2 separate regions of the Homo sapiens genome follow, and region 2 is linked to region 1. The links are contacts of gene promoters, found by promoter capture Hi-C in human tissues and cell types (Jung and others, 2019). All regions are on one chromosome and are shown on one strand. Each heading gives the region's core, a stretch centred on a gene start or on the middle of the fragment in contact. The rest is flanking DNA. Distances are from core to core; before and after follow the strand shown. Region 1 holds the start of CA7 (carbonic anhydrase 7). Region 2 overlaps DYNC1LI2 (dynein cytoplasmic 1 light intermediate chain 2).

What was found. The method cuts DNA at HindIII sites, captures the fragments that hold promoters and counts their contacts. A contact is called where the count stands out against the background at its distance.
Region 2: a contact is called between a fragment that was not itself captured here and the fragment with the promoter of CA7 in region 1, in 2 of the 25 tissues and cell types used here (bladder and thymus).

The regions. Positions count from the first base shown.
Region 1 is chr16:66,843,022-66,845,727 of GRCh38, forward strand. It overlaps CA7 (carbonic anhydrase 7), which reads left to right and starts at 1,393. Exons shown (of 7, transcript NM_005182.3): 1 at 1,393-1,506. The coding sequence starts at 1,467. The region is part of intron 3 of LOC124903699 (a long non-coding RNA gene); the gene reads right to left. RefSeq lists an enhancer at 1,321-1,822. The HindIII fragment of the contact is 13,624 bases long and covers 1-2,706 here.
Region 2 is chr16:66,741,120-66,743,920 of GRCh38, forward strand. It overlaps DYNC1LI2 (dynein cytoplasmic 1 light intermediate chain 2), which reads right to left. Exons shown (of 13, transcript NM_006141.3): 4 at 1,319-1,549. Among named protein-coding and RNA genes, the nearest start is that of DYNC1LI2, 9.1 kb to the right of the region's middle. The HindIII fragment of the contact is 5,830 bases long and covers 1-2,801 here.

The sequences.
Region 1 (2,706 bases), core at 143-2,642:
AACGACCAGGGCTCGTGGGTGGGAAAATACTGGGCCAAGGCAGGCACTGGGGTTGAGTGCAGGGTGGAGGGTCTGAGCTCCCAGGGGGTGTACTGAAGGTTATGGGGAGGTCAGGAGAGGAGGGACAAACAGCAGGCTATGGAGGGACAAAGCAGAGTCCCTGAAGAAAGGAGGAAGCAGTAGACAAAATAACAGGGAGGGTGGAAGTCAGAGCCTCAGACTTAGCTCCATGGGGAAGCCACCTGGTGTCTGCCTGTCTTCAGGCCCATTGGTTGATGCCACTCCTTCTCACTCCCCCTTGGGGGATCTGGTTCCACCTGGGCCAAGGGTTCACATTGCCATTCCTGTCCCTGCATCTACCCCAGGGTTCCCGGACCCCCACACTCACAGCACACCCTTGTACCCAGCACCAAGGAGAAATGGTAAAGACCCCAGTGTCAGGCCAGGAGTGGTGGCTCACTCCTCTAATCCCAACACTTTGGGAGGCCAAGGCGGGTGGATTACTTGAGGCCAGAAGTTCAAGACCAGCCCAGGCAACATGGTGAAACCCCCATCTCTACAAAAAACACAAAAATTAGCTGGATGTGGTGGCACACACCTGTAATCCCAGCTACTTGGAAGGCTGAAGCAGAAGAATCACTTGAATCAAGGAGGTGGAGGTTGCAGTGAGCTGATATAGCACCAGCCTGGGTGACAGAGCAAGACTCTGTCTAAAAACAAACAAGCAAACAAACAAACAAACAAACAAATCCCACAAAACCCCCAGTGTCTGGAGTAAGAACCCCAGCTAATGAACCCTTTACCCCCTGGCTAGATGACCTTGGGCAAGTCACTTCACTTCTCTGGGCCTCACTCCCCTCCTCTGTCAGATAGGGCTGATGGAAGCACCCAACCTTGTAGGGTAACAGAGAGGGTTATACCATAGGAAGGACCCAAAGCTTGGTCCAGCGCCTGCAACAGCCTCTGGCAAACAGTGGAAGCTCCAGTTTTGGACACTTGATGGTCAGTGTAGTTTGCAGTTTAAAGGGGACTTTCCAACCCCAAAAGATTCAGGACCCAGAGCTCAGGTCTCTGGTGGTGGCATTTGCAGGTCTGGGGCAAGCCTAGGGAAGGGACGCCATGTGCGGCACGGGCATCTAGTGTCCCAGAGTCCGCACGGGTTGCTGGGGGAAAAAGAGGGATAGTCGCCCAGCCAGGGCAGGGGTGGGAGTTGGGGGGAGAGGGTTACTTCCTCCTGCCCTGAATCTCCGCTCGGGGTTCAACTGGCTCGCCGGCGGGCGAGGGCGGGGCAGGCCGGCCTCTCTGGCCCTGCTGGGGGGTGGGGGGCGGGTCCCCCGGGAACTGCTCCTCCCGCCAGCCGCTGCTTTAAGAGGCTGCTCCGCGGTAGCGAGCGGGGCCGGAGCCGCAGCCCGAACGAGCGGACCGAGCCGACCGGGCAGGTGCACGGCTGCGGGGACGGCAGCGGCATGACCGGCCACCACGGCTGGGGCTACGGCCAGGACGACGGTAGGCACAGACCTCCCCCACCGCCTCTGGCTCGGACCCCCGACCCAACTGCACTCGCCCCAACCCTCTTGCCCAGCTGGTTTCCCAGACCGGAAAGCTCCCACACTCCAGGCTGGGCGGGACCCCTCTTCCCATCCCGGCCCCCGAACTTGGCCCAAGCCTTGGTCCCCCGCGCCAGACGCAAAGTCCGCGCTGCGCCCCGGGTGGCCCCGCCGCCAGCAAGCGACCTGGCGGCTGTGTCCTGCCGCCTCCTCCGCGAAGCCCCTGATTGCCCAGCCCGCTCAGACCCAGGCCCAGACTCTCACTCACTCGCCCCGGGCGTGCGCAGCGCGTGGGGGTGGCCCAGGGCAGCGGGGGGCGGGCGCCGCGGAGCGCTGTGCGCGGGTGTCTGCGGGGAGCGCGCACGGCAAGTGAGCGGGGACCTCGGGGGAGCGGGGCTCCGCGTGGCAAGGGCGCAGTGTCCCCCGGAGAGAATTTCCCCGCAGAAGTGGCCGAGCTGCCTTCTCGGCCGGTACGTGAGGGAAGGGGGCACTTGGGGGCGCAAGCATGTGTCTGGGTGTCTACACCGAGCAGGGTGTTTGCGCACGTCCGGGTGTGAGTCGTGGGAGCCCGTGGCCCACACCAGCCTCCTGGGCTGACGCGGAAGAGAGCTCCTTCATCCTGCCTCAGTTTCCTTAGGACTCAGAGAAAGGGAGAAGAGGCAGAAGGTGAGAGCCAGACGGCTGGAGTGTGGGTCTGGGGCAGTCAATTCCCTTTGGGGCCATTTCTTACCAAGCAGGGGTGGGGGTGTGGGGTAAGGGGTTCCCTATTTCCCTGGGGAGCCAGTGCAAGACAGGTGGGGTGCGGAGAAGAAAAAGTAATGATGGGAGGAACATCCCCCAGCCCCACTCCTCTGCGGAGAGGCAGTCACTTTGTGAGGTTGGGTGGGGGACCACAGTCTGGGAAGCCAGAAAGTTGCAGTAGACCAGAGGGAGGGTGCTGTGGAGTCTTTGGCTCCCTCTGGGGCCCCAAGAACAAAGGAGCATATTTTGGAAGAGAACCCCCAGATCTGGGTATGCAAGAGCTGGAAAGAGACATTCAGAAAAAGATGATATAGACAAGCAGAGAGGGAGAGACAGGCAGACATGGGGCAGATGGACAGGACCCATAGGGATCATCTTCTCCCAGCACCTGCTCTGAGCCACCTTTTGGGTGCTTCCC
Region 2 (2,801 bases), core at 158-2,657, 100 kb before region 1:
TGGCTCAATCTCTCTCTTTTCTGTCTTAACAGATCTCTACAAGGTTATCACTCTAAGAAAACAGCTTCAGAGAACTGAAGTCACCAGTACATTAGCCCACTCATCTGGGTACAAAGCTGTCTGTGCAGTGGATGAAAGCAGGTCTTCAGACTCAGAACTATTCAGAGAAGTTGTCCTTAAGGGCTCTATTTCAGGAAAAAAGAGGCATTATCTAGAAAGGTCAGTGGTTGAAGACACATGAGCTGAGCTGCATAACAATCACAGTAGCACACATGCGGGTGACCAGGGAAATATACACATGCACAACAAACCGAAGAATACAATGTTAAACTCATTGTTTTAGACAACGTGGGACAGAAGCAAGATGAAGTACTGGACAGAAAACACACTGCGAGAAACTTGATTTAAAAAGCGCATCAAAATTTCTGAACCATTCTGCCAGTAAGTGTGAAGATCCCGTGTGCCATGCCCGAGAAGCCCTCATTAATTCACCAGAGGGGGTGATGTCATCCTGTGAAAATACGCCAGGCTGGGTCAAGCTTGCCCCGGCCAGGACGGCTGCTGCTGCTGCCATGGCTCCAGCCCCTGCCCCTCCCATTTCCCTGGCAAGTGGACAGAAGATGATGTAACTGCACAGAAGCAAGGGAAAGGAAAAACAAGCTTCTGAACCACATTAAGGAAAAAAAAACCCAAACAAACTTCCTTTAATTTGAAAGTTCTTTGTTGTCAAAAGGGCTTGGATGTCCTTAGTCTTAAAATAACCTTTCATGTTAATTACAAAAAAAAAAAAAAAAAAAAAAAGACCCTCCTATTTCTAACTAAAATCGTATTTTGCTGGATTCCAAAATGAACTAAGGAGCTGAAAGCTTTGTCTTTCTTAGGACTTCCTCTAAGCCTGCCAACACGAGGGTCCATAGGGCCTTAATGGAATTCCAGGGCAGTAAACTCAAGCTGCAGAGACCACAGCAAACCCTCACATCCTCTGATGTTAACTCAGCAGACAGAGAGTAACAGAAAAGCACAGAGATCCACAGAACTTAACACATTTTAGGGAGTGAGGGAAGAACTCTTATTTGAAACGGAAACCAATGAAGATAATAAATATTGATTTGTTTTCTTCAACTTGTGACACTTGAGTTAAAGACTGCTTTGAATACTTTTGACTACTGAGTTTACAAGAGGAACTCTGAAATAAATGGTGCAAACAAAACAAAACCACGAAGCAAGGGAAGCCTCTAGGATTGGGAAAAGGAAAGTGATTCAAACCATCTAAAGAGACTCGTGAACTTCCCAATTAAGAAAATTATATTTTACTCACACTTCCGTTCCAGCTCCCTCATTTTTTCTGGTGGAATTTTCATTTTATCAATGTGCTCACGTAAAACACTAGCCCATTTCTGCAGAGATTCCATCACAGTCCAAGGTCTAGACATGTCTGCAACAAAAATGACGAGGGTCTCTGGCAAGGATTCAGCAGAAACTGCAAATTTCAGCAGGCCTTTGTGGTACAAGTCTCCATCCAGAATCCACACGTTGCAGCGCGTGTGATCTGAGAAAACAAGTGAATGAAGCTAGTTACCACCTGACAGTGACCATCAGCATAGCTGCAGAAACAGACACATCAGGAAGATCTTGAAGGTGACAGCTATGAATTCTAAATAGAATGCAAAATTTGGAAATCCAAACCAAAAAGTGCCCAAGTGCTCAGGAGACAGCAATCCTTGGTCCTGGTGCCTTTAAAACTACAGTAATATAGGGTCCAGGCATGGTGGCTCACACCTGTAATCTCAACACTTTGAGAGGCTGAGGCAGGTGGATCACTTGAGGTCAGGGGTTCAAGACCAGCCTGGCCAACATGGCAAAACCCCATCTCTACTAAAAGTACAAAACAAATTAGCCGGGCATCGTGACACTCGCCTGTAATCCCGGCTACTTAGGAGGCTGAGGCAGGAGAATTGCTTGAACCCAGGAAGTAGAGGTTGCGATGAGCTGAGATTGTGCCAATGCACTCCAGCCTGGGCAACAGAATGAGAGTCCATCTCAAAACAAAAACAAAAACAAAAACAAAAACAAAACAAACAAAAAAAACTACAGTAATATAGGAGGTGTTCACACCTAAAAAGGTTTCCAAAATGTCTATGAAGTAAAGATTGAGGGTATCGGACCCAGTGCGGTGGCTCACACCTATAATCCCTGCACTTTGGGAGGCTGAGGCGAACTGATCACGAGGTCGGGAGTTCAAGACCGGCCTGGCCAGCATGGTAAAACCTGTCTCTATTAAAAATACAAAATTTAGCTGGGCATGGTGGCAGGCGCCTGTAATCCCAGCTACTTGGGAGGCTGAGGTAGGAGAATCACTTGAACCCGGGAGGCAGATGTTGCAGTGAGTCGAGATCGTGCCACTGCACTCCAGCCTGGATGACAGAGTGAGACTCCATCTCAAAAAAAAAAAAAAAAAAAAAAGGGTGAGAGTCTCTTAGCTTTCAATAAAAACCAAAAGATACTAATGTTCACTGGTCAACTGTGCCACAACCTAAATAATCCATCATCCTAAGGTAACAGCAATCAGTGAAGCAGTGAGCTGTGCTGAAGAGCCTATGTTTAAACAAGCCCTTCTTGTGTTGGTCACACTAAACAATGCATTCACATACTATAAAGGATGCCAAAGAGACAGAACCTTTGTATTTAAATGTGAAGATAAAATCATCACTTACATAAACTGAGATATGAATTACCAGACGCCTAATTATATTGGGGAATTAGTAATTTTTTGTTATGATAATAATATGGTTATGTTTTTA